2 separate regions of the Homo sapiens genome follow, and region 2 is linked to region 1. The links are contacts of gene promoters, found by promoter capture Hi-C in blood cells and fetal thymus (Javierre and others, 2016). All regions are on one chromosome and are shown on one strand. Each heading gives the region's core, a stretch centred on a gene start or on the middle of the fragment in contact. The rest is flanking DNA. Distances are from core to core; before and after follow the strand shown.

Region 1 (4,852 bases), core at 2,205-4,704:
GACTCGAAGGTTCTGGACACCAGGGTTACCTGGGCAGTGGCCACATTTAGGAAGTAATCGACCAGCTCCTTGGCGTTGTACTCGGGGCTGCGAGGGTCCTCCACCAGCGGCTGATCGACACACAGCACATCCCAGCACAGATTCCTTGGCGGGTTGTAACCATTGGGAAGCACACCTGCAGGTCACACCAAGTTCAAGGGGTGGCCCATCACCCAGACCTTCCCTGGTTTCAAAGCCGGCCATGTCCCACCCAGGATGGGCTTCAGAATTTGTGTCCCAATGCAAAAGGAAATGCAGGGCCTTTGTTCCCAGACTATAGGAATTCCAGGACAGTGACAACAGAGCAGATATCAAGCCCAGGGCCCTTCTGAGTGTGTGGCACCATGGCTGGCCCTGCCCTCACCAAGCCCCCTACCAGTGAAGAGGTCCGCGGTCGGGGGCTTCAGGCTGGTGCTGGCCCGCCACACCTGCTCCATCTCCAGCTTCTGCATCCGTACCCACTTATCTTGATAATCAAGGCGCCCAAAGAAGAAGCCGTCGAAGCCCATCTGGGGATGAGGGAGGAAAAGGCAGTGTGAATTAGTGCCCAGCCCTCTCACCACCAAACTCCCCTCTGCTTGGGAGGGGCAGGTCAGAGCACAGGTTAAAAAGCAGTGCTAGGTCGATGTGGTGGCTCTTGCCTATGATCCCAGCCTTCTGGGAGGCCAAAACAGGAGGATCACTTAAACCCAGGAGTTTTTGAGACCAGCCTGCACAACACGGGCAGACTGTCTACAAAAAATTTAAAAATTAGCCAGGCGTAGTGGTGCGCTCTTGTAGTCTCATCTACTAGGGGGGCTGAGACAGGAGAATCGCTTGAATCCGGGAGATTGAGGCTATAGTGAGTTAGGATTGCACCACTGCACTCCAGCCTGGATGACAGCAAGACCCTGTCTCAAAAAACAAAAACAAAAACACGTAGGGCTGAAACAGAGAGGCCTCCAGCTTATTTCCAAGCTTGGGGAAGTTTCAGAACTCACCACCTTGGGCTAGCAGGGAGAGGGCGGGTCCAACATCAGAACCCAGGTTCACCTCCCCAGCACTGTCAAAGCGCAGAGCAGGCCTGACTCCAGGAATGAGGTTCCCCCTTCCACAGCCTGAGGATGGATGGGGTCTGAGCACAGGTAATGAACCTGTTTTTAAGGCAGCCTAGGCATCCACTTGCCACCCGGTTTAGGGAGGAGCCAGGACCCGAGCTAGTGGGTGGGGCCAGAACACCAAGAGGGGCCTATTAGGGGAGAGGGCGGAGCCAGCCGGAGCTGGGTCAGCCTGGGCTGGGCATAGCCGGCTGAGGCCAGAGCTCAAAAGCCACTGGCTTTACGGCTCACTCAAGGGGCAGGGCTTCAACAGGCCTAGGCCTGGGCCTGGTCCTTGTGAGATTGCAGGGAGAGGGCGGGGTTTGACTGGGCGAGGGAGGAGCCAGAGTGAGTGAAGAAGTGGGCCCAAGAGAGGTCCCGGGTCGCACCTGCGCAAACAGCGAGGCCTGCTCCCGAGAGTGGCCGAAGGGGTCAATGTGCCAGGCCACACGGGGTCGCCCATCATTGCCAAATGTGTCCTCCAGAAAGCGCAGCCCAAGTGTCATCTGGTCCACGATGGCACCGTAGTGGGTGGCTGCCTCATCGTTCATCACCCAGCCACCATTGGCGAACTCCAGGCGCCCTGTGCCAGGACAGGCAAGGTCAGGGTCAGCGGTCAGAGCCAGGAGTGGGAGTAGGGTGGGTGATACTGGGAATGTGAAAGCCTGCCTGTGTACACATTTCTGGCGGAAGGACAAGAGGGGTCGCTCCCAGGCCATAGTTCCCAGATATGGGAAAGAGGCCCCCTGCATGGCAGGCTTCCCAGAGGATGCACAGCAGGTGGGGCTTTGTGGGATGTATAGGAGGTCTCCAAATGGAGAGTCCAGGCAGGCGGAGCGACACGCATGTTATACAGCTTGCACGTGGCATGACAAATCTCAGAAACCAGAGATGCAGAAGCAGAAGCTGGGCTGGGCTTCCTCTTTTCACTTCCTTGGGGTAGGCTCACCCTGGCGCACAAGGTCTCGCACGACTTCCTGTGTGGCATTTGTCTGCTGGTGCCACCAACGGGAGAAGAAGGCAATCTCCACGTAAATGAAGCGACGGGTGGGATCTGCCAGCAAGGCAGAGATGACCGAGTCCAGGATGTACTGCACACCGGCGTGCTGGATGTCATTCTTGACTGTGGATAACAGGGATAAGGCTCTCAGGGAACAGCAGAGCCAAGGGGGTTATTCCTAGACAGAGGAGCCCAAACCCTGGATATTAGGGTAGCACTGGCCCCACCCTAATGTCCAGGACCCAGAGGGATTACAGGGACCATGGGGATCCCAGGGACCAGTCCCCATCCTCTACTCACTTCCATAAAAGTACTGGTCCACGGTTTTGAGCCAGCCCACGTCATCATGTGTGTGAGGCAGCAGGTGCACGTTCAGCATGTTCGGCTGCACTGTGGGGCATGTCTGCACAGGGACCCCAAACACACATACCTTGTCAATAACCCCCGAGGTCGGGGGCTGCAGAGTAAGTCTTGATCTAGAGGTGAGTGACTCAGAGAGGCCTGATCTCGCCTATGTGCAGAGGAGGCCAGGCCCTCCCAGGCAGGACACACACATACATAGTTGTGCTCATAGATACAACTCCACTTTGCACAACCCCACAGGGCAGCTCTCATTCACACTCCGGGAAAATAATAATAGAAGTAGCTGATGTTTGTTCAGCATTTGCCGACAGCAGACGGCCACCGTGGGAGGTGGGGTGATGTTATCCCCAGTTTCCAGATGAAGGCACTGAGGCTTAGAGAGGATAGGTGACTTGCCCAACGTCACACACTCAGGAAGTGTAAGAGCTAGGCTGGAATTTCAGGCAGACTCCAGAGTCCCAGCTCTCAGCCAGCACCTCCCCCCACACATACACTGCTCACCCCCTGCCACCTCCTGCCCCTCCAATCCCACAGTTAAGTGCAGACAAAGTCTAGGCAAGCATCCCGGAGACACGGAGGCAGGTACAATCAGACACAGTCCTATACTCAGATGCGCACAGCCAGACCTCGCAATGACACAAAGCACGCACTCAGACCACACTGTCATATCATCAGCCATTCACTAGACACCCACAGGACAGACCCACCCACACCTCTAGACTGTATTCTGGGTTTCACTCTGCCTCCTGTACGTTTCAGCTCGGAGGCCCCACTCACCTCGTATCCCCCGGCCCGAGCACCGGCAGCCGCCAGCAACAAAAGGAAAAAGCAGAGAGGCGGGAGCGGTGGCCGCAGGGCGCGGGACATGGTCCAGGGGCCTGCTGAGTCCAGGCAGCCGCGAGCGCAGACCCCCGAAGCCCGCGCGTAGGCGCCCATGGCTCAGCAGCTTCCTCCTGGGGTTCCCCGGCCCTGGAAAGGCCGGGCAAACGCCCCGCCCCCAGACCCGGCCGGGCCAATCGGGGTGGGGGGCGGGGCCAGGGCGCGGTCTGGAGGCTCACGGGAGAGAGGCTGTAGCCCTGGGCAATCCCGGGGGTCGTTACAGGAAGGTAGGAAAATGCCACCCTCAGGGCACTGGTTGGGCTAAAGGTGACACTGGCGTCTCACGGGCTATGAAGACGGAATGCCTCTTAATGCCGGAATTCCAAGACGGAATGCCTCTTAATGCCGGTAGGAGCAGAAGTGCTTTTCCTAAGGGGGCCGGGTTTTCCTAGCCGGTGTAGTGTGTCCATGGGAATCCAGGGTGTCCGTCCCATGGACCTTCAGCGCTAGGGTCCTGGAAGGACCTAGCTTGCCTAAGAGGAGGATCTGATGAAGAGTCCTATACTGTGGGGATTGGGACGTTGGGTAAATACCCCTGGAGTACCAGGGATGGGATCCAGCCTGGTTGAGAAGGATCCCTGGGTGTTCCGGAGAGAAAAGAGGGTCTGACAAGTGGGGAAGGACCCCGAGTCTTTCATGCCTTTCCCAATTCCTACCAGTTCATTCTCTGATAAGAAAACAAAGCCCAGGGCAGGCGCAGTGGCTCAAGCCTGCAATCCCAGCACTTTGGGAGGGCCAGGCTGGTGAATCACTTGGGCCTGGGAGTTTGAGACCAGCCTGGGCAACATGGGTTGTTTTGTAGAGACGGGTTTGAAAACACAAAATTTGTAATTTTACACAAAATGTAAAAATACAAAAATTAGCTGGGCATGGTGGCACATGCCTGTAATCCCAGCTACTTGGGAGACTGAGGCAGGAGAATCACTTGAACCTGGGAGGCGGAGGTTGCAGTGAGCCGAGATCAAGATCATGCCATTGCCCTCCAGCCTGGGCAACAAGAGCAAAACTCTGTCTCAAAAAAAACAAGAATTAACTGGGCATGGTAGCACGCATTTGTGGTCCCAGTTACGTGGCAGGCTGAGGTGGGAGGATTGCTTGAGCCCAGGAGTTTGAGGCTGCAGTGAACATAGATTGTGCCACTGCACTCAGCCTGCATGACAGATCAAGACCATTTTCTTTCTTAAAAAGGAAAAAAAAAAAAGGAAACCAAAGCCTAGATTATCTAGGTCAGCAGGGCCATCTGGTGAGTTGCCAGAGGGCAGAAGTCACTGTCTTGTCCCTAGCACCTGACTTAAGACACAAGGTTTATGAAGTAAGCAAATGAACAGCCAGAAGCCTCCAGACTGGGGCCCCACACCAGGCCTATGGGGCTAGAGCCCTTCCCGCCAGGTAGGAGGAACACCCCACTGAACAGAAGAGGCTGACAGCCAGAGTGAAAAACTTTATTAACAACAGGTTTCAACGAGAAAGCAAATGAATACCCCTAGAAACATGG
Region 2 (5,411 bases), core at 136-2,635, 1.1 Mb before region 1:
TGCCTCAGCCTCCCTAGTAGCTGTGATTACAGGCACGCACCACCACGCCCGGCTAATTTTGTATTTTTAGTAGAGACGGGGTTTCTCCATGTTGGCCAGGCTGGTCTCCAATGCCCGATCTCAGGTGATCTGCCCACCTCAGCCTCCCAAAGTTCTGCGATTACAGGCGTGAGTCACCATGCCTGGCCAGTCTCCTGTTTTTTTAAAAACTTATTATTTAGCCGGTGTGGTGTCTCACACCTGTAATCCTGGCACTTTGGGAGGCCGAGGTGAGCGGATCACTTGAGGTCAGGTGTTCCAGACCAGCCTGGGCAACATGGCAAAACCTTGTCTCTACTAAAAAGACAAAAATTAGCTGGAGGTGCTCTCTTGAACCCAGGAGGCAGAGGTTGCAGTGAACTGAGATCATGCCACTGCACTCCAACCCAGGAGGAGGAGGTTGCACTGAGCCAATATCATGCCACTACATTCCAGCCTGGGCGACAGAGCAAGACTCTGTCCCCCCCAAAAAAAAAACAGAAAAAAAAAAAAAGAAAGAAATCTGAAGCAATTATGACCAAATGTTAACATCTGTTTCTTCACGTGGTGGGTACAGGCGTGTTTTGGAAGCTTCTATGCTTCCTGTATTTTGAGATCACACAAAATTATGTTTATTATCTTATTGTGCTACATGATCTTTGTAGAAAAGTTGGTAAATTCTGGAATGCACGAAGAAAAAGATTATAATAGCCAGTAATACCCCTGCCCAGAGAGACAGTATCCATTAATTTTTCTCTGCCTATGTTTGTCTTCGGAAAAATGGGATACTATTGGCACTATTTTATAACTTTTTAATTTGTATTAACACTTTCTATATTTTTTAAATTGAAAAAGCTGGCCAAGCATGGTGGCTCAGGCCTGTAAACCCAGCCAATGTGGGAGGATCGCTTGAGCCCGGGAGTTCAGGAACAGCCTGGGCATCGTGGCGAGACCACATTGCTACAAAAAAAAAAAAAAAAAAAAAAAAAATTAGCCAGGCATGGTGGTGCACACCTGTGGTTCCATCTACTCAGGAAGCTGAGGTGGAGGATCGCTTGAGCCTGGGAGTTTGAGGCTGCAATAAGCTACGAATGCACCACTGACCTTCAGCCTGGGCAACACAGCTAGACTCTTGTCTCAGAGAGAGAGAGAGAGAGAGAGAGAGAGCACAATGAAAAAAATAAACCTGATCTTGCACAGAGCATGTAATAAAACCTGTGCGTTCTTGGCTATCTCTCTCTGGTCTCCTCCAGGGTGCTGAATAAGCTCTTCTCTCTCCATTCACCCAGGAGAACTCTCTTCTGCTGATTTTCTGTGGAGCTAGATCAGGCTGTGACTCAGAATCTCCCTCCACCTCCACCCTTTCCTATTTTCCCAACACCAGTGTCAATCTCAGATGTCAACAACCCCACGAGTGAGTTCCTCCTGTTGCCAATACATCCAGGTCCTGTTCTCCGCTGCTGTCTCTACCCAATCCCTTCCCTTCCTTCCTCCTGCCAATCCTGCTTTCCCTGTTTCTTGCTCCTCTGACCTCCTCCGCATTGCTTGACTGTCTCAGATACACTCTGGCCTCAGGGTCTTGGCACTTTCTGTTCTCCCTGCCTGGAAGGGTCTTCCTTAGTCAGATACTGAGGTCACCCATTGTGTTCAAGTTCCTTTAATTTATCTGAAATGAGTCTGGGCGTGGTGGCTCACGCCTGTAATCCCAGCACTTTGGGAAGCCAAGCCGGGTGGATCACTTGAGGCCAGGAGTTCGAGACCAGCCTGGCCAACATGGTGAAACCCCATCTCTACTAAAAATACAGAAATTAGCTGGGCGTGGTGGCACAAACCTGTGGTCCCAGCTACTCAGGAGGTCGAGGCAGGAGAATTGCTTGAACCTGGGAGGCGGAGGTTGCAGTGAGCCAAGATCGTGCCACTGTACTCTAGCCTGGGTGACAGAGTGAGACTCTGTCTCAAAAAAAAAAAAAAAAAAAGAAAAAGATAATTTATCTGAAATTATCTGAAATGCACCACCCTGCCCCCATCATTGACTCTCCTGTTGCTGTAGTTTTCTCTGCAGCACTTACCAGTGCTTGAGAAAACCACCCACTCATTTATCTTGCTTTCAGTTTCTCTTGCTTTCAGTCTGTCTTCAGTTAATGAAAGCTTTTTTTTTCTTTCTTTTTTCTTTTTCTAAAACAGAGTCACCCAGGCTGGAGACCAGTGATGCGATCACGGCTCACTGCAGACTCGACCTTCTGGGCTCAGGGGATCCTCCCACACCCCTTGGCCTCCTGGGGATTGAGACTACAGGCACACACCACCACACCCAGCTAATTTTTGTATTTTTTGTAGAGAGAGGGATTTGTCACCTTGTCCAGGCTGCTCTTGAACTCCTGAGTTCAAGCAATCCTCCCAACTCAGCCCCTCAAAGTGCTGGGATTACAGGTGTGAACCACTGCCCCTGGCCTGTTTATTTAAAAAATTAACATTCATTCTCAGTTTATTGGCTAAGTTTAGAAGTAGTATCAGAATGTTTAAGAGAACTTACTGTTCTCCTTTTATTTGTATGTTTGCATTGTAGATTTTTAATAACTGATAAGGACTTCTCAAGGTGTTTGCTTGGTGGAGACATTTAAAAAGATTAAAGAATAGGCCAGGTGCAGTGGCTCATGCCTGTAATCCCAGCACTTTGGGAGGCCGAGGCGGGTGGATCAAGAGGTCAGGAGATCGAGACCATCCTGGCTAACATGGTGAAACCCCATCTCTACTATAAATACAAAAAATTACCTGGGTGTGGTGGCACGTGCCTGTAGTCCCAGCTACTCAGGAGGCTGAGGCAGGAGAATCGCTTGAACCCGGGAGGCAGAGGTTGCAGTGAGCTGAGATCGCACCATTGCACTCTAGCCTGGGTGGTAGAGCAAGACTCTGTCTCAAAAAATAATAATAATAAATTAAAAGATTAAAGAATAAGCTGGCACAGTGGCTCACACCTGTCATCCCAACACTTTTTGTAGAGACCTCATCTCTTAAAAATAAAATTAGCTGGGCGTGGTTGTGTGCACCTGTAGCCCAGCTACTCAGGAGGCTGAGGTGGGAGCATTGCTCAGGAGGTCGAGGCTGCAGTGAGCCATGATTGCACCACTGCACTCCAGTCTGGGTGACAGAGCTGATACACTGTCTCTAAAAAATAATAATAATTGACCGGGCGCAGTGGCTCACGCCTGTAATCCCATCACTTTGGGAGGCCGAGGCGGGCGGATCACGAGGTCAGGAGATCGAGAGCAACATGGCTAACACGGTGAAACCCCGTCTCTACTAAAAATACAAAAAAATTAGCTGGGCGTGGTGGTGGGCGCCTGTAGTCCCAGCTACTCGGGAGGCTGAGGCAGGAGAATGGCATGAACCTGGGAGGTGGAGCTTGCAGTGAGCCAAGATCGCGCCACTGCACTCCATCCGGCTTGGGTGACAGAGCGAGACTCCATCTCAAAAAAAAAATTAATAATAATAATTATTATTATAGTAGTAAAAGAGTATAGAATAAAATGCATCACACTTATAAAATGTAAAATGTTAATTTCAATCCACTAAACTTATAAACGGACCCAAATATGCATCCAATGACCTCTTAAAGTGATATTTCTTTTTCTTTTTGTTGAGATGGAGTCTCACTCACTCTGTCACCCAAGCTGGAGCGCAGTGGTGTGATCTTCAGCTCGTCCCAACCTCCGTCTCCCAGGTTCAAGCGATTCTCCTGACCTCAAGTGATCCGTCTGCCTTGGCATCCCAAAGTGCTGGGATTACAGGCCTGAGGCCAGGCCCTGAATTAATTTTTTGATGTTTCACTTTGCCAGGTGTATAAGTAACATGTTAGTTGTGATTGTAACTAAATAAAGGCTTAAGGGAAACCGTGTTTCTAAATTTCTAAATTGACTACACATTTACAAAGGAACCCACAAAGATGGATTTTTGGGCCGGGCGCAGTGGCTCACGCCTGTAATCCCAGCACTTTGGGAGGCTGAGGCAGACAGATTGCCTGAGTTCAGGAGTTCAAGATCAGCCTAGGCAACAAGGTGAAACCCTTTCTCTACTAAAATACAAAAAAATTAGCTGGGCATGGCAGCGAGCACCTGTAATCCCAGCTACTTGGGAGGCTGAGGCCGGAGAATTGCTTGAACCAGGGAGGCAGAGGTTGCAGTGAGTCGAGATCACACCACCGCACTCCAGCCTGGGCAACACAGTGAGACTCGATCTTAAAAAAAAAAAAAAAAGATGGACTTTTTCGGGGCCCCAAGGCTTCAAAATTCAAAATGCTGTCATGAGTTAGTTTGATTTGAGGAACCAAAAATTGGCTTTTGTGGCTGGAGCAGAGTGAGCAAGGGGGAAGTGAATCCGGAAGGTTGAGTCTGCAAGGTCAAGGGCAAGGAACAGAGAAGGGTGTGGGTGGGGCAGGTTGCGTGTGCTCTTGGGGGCTGCAGGGAAGGGGGCTTTTATCTGGGTAAGGTGGGAGCCACAGAGGGTTCTGATCAGAGGGACAGATCTGACTTAGATTTTGCATGATGTCCCCCAGCTGTGGGCTGCGGGGCATGGGCTGCTGAATAGGTGGTTTAGGTGGGCAAAGATGGGTCATGGTGCCCCCTACCCTTTAAAAATTAAAAGACAGGGCCAGGAGCAGTGGCTCACGCCTGTAATCCCAGCACTTTGGGAGGCTGAGGTGGGCGGATCACCTGAGGTCAGGTGTTTGAGACCAGCCTGACCAACAAGGTGAAACCCCATCTCTACTAAAAATACAAAAAAAATTAGCTGGGCGTGGTGGCAGCCACCTGTAATCCCAGCTACTCGGGAGGCTGAGGCAGGAGAATCGCTTGAACCCGGGAAGCAGAGGTTGCAGTGAGCCAAGATCGTGCCACTGCACTCCAGCCTGGGCGACAAGAGCAAGACTGTCTCAAATAATAATAATAGGCCGGGTGTGGTGGCTCACACCTGTAATCCCAGCACTTTGGGAGGTTGAGGTGGGTGGATCACTGGAGCCCAGGAGTTTGAGACAAGCCTGGGTGACACAGTGAGACCCCATCTAAATTATTATTATTATTATTATTTGAGACAGAGTCTTGCTCCATCACCCAGGCTGGAGTGCAGTGGCGCGATCTTGGCTCACTGCAAGCTCCGCCTCCCGGGTTCACGCCATTCTCCTGCCTCAGCCTCCCAAGTAGCTGGGACTACAGGTGCCCGCCACCACGCCCAGCTAATTTTTTGTATTTTTTAGTAGAGACGGGGTTTCACCATGTTAGTAAGGATGGTCTGGATCTCCTGACCTTGTGATCCGCCTGCCTTGGCCTCCCAAGGTGCTGGGATTACAGGCGTGAGCCACCATGCCCAGCCTGAATTTTTTTTCTTAAAGATTAAAAAGG

Evidence for each region. The method cuts DNA at HindIII sites, captures the fragments that hold promoters and counts their contacts. A CHiCAGO score of 5 or more calls a contact.
Region 2: a contact is called between a fragment that was not itself captured here and the fragment with the promoter of MAN2B1 in region 1, in 1 of 17 cell types (M0 macrophages). The highest score is 5.0, in M0 macrophages.

What each region holds. Positions count from the first base shown.
Region 1 is chr19:12,663,288-12,668,139 of GRCh38, forward strand. It overlaps MAN2B1 (mannosidase alpha class 2B member 1), which reads right to left and starts at 3,455. Exons shown (of 24, transcript NM_000528.4): 1 at 3,256-3,455; 2 at 2,416-2,518; 3 at 2,065-2,238; 4 at 1,505-1,698; 5 at 416-548; 6 at 30-175. The coding sequence starts at 3,414. WDR83 (WD repeat domain 83) reads left to right here and starts at 3,520. Exons shown (of 11, transcript NM_001099737.3): 1 at 3,520-3,705. It overlaps WDR83OS (WD repeat domain 83 opposite strand), which reads right to left. Exons shown (of 4, transcript NM_016145.4): 4 at 4,786-4,852. RefSeq lists enhancers at 1,125-2,073, 2,074-3,021, 2,678-2,727, 2,788-2,917, 2,938-3,067 and 2 more and a silencer at 3,318-3,597. The HindIII fragment of the contact is 17,009 bases long and covers 995-4,852 here.
Region 2 is chr19:11,579,757-11,585,167 of GRCh38, forward strand. It overlaps LOC124904638 (a long non-coding RNA gene), which reads left to right. Exons shown (of 2, transcript XR_007067140.1): 2 at 3,661-3,908. Among named protein-coding and RNA genes, the nearest start is that of ACP5, 4.8 kb to the left of the region's middle. RefSeq lists enhancers at 2,028-2,227, 4,129-4,268, 4,279-4,338 and a silencer at 2,363-2,528. The HindIII fragment of the contact is 1,557 bases long and covers 608-2,164 here.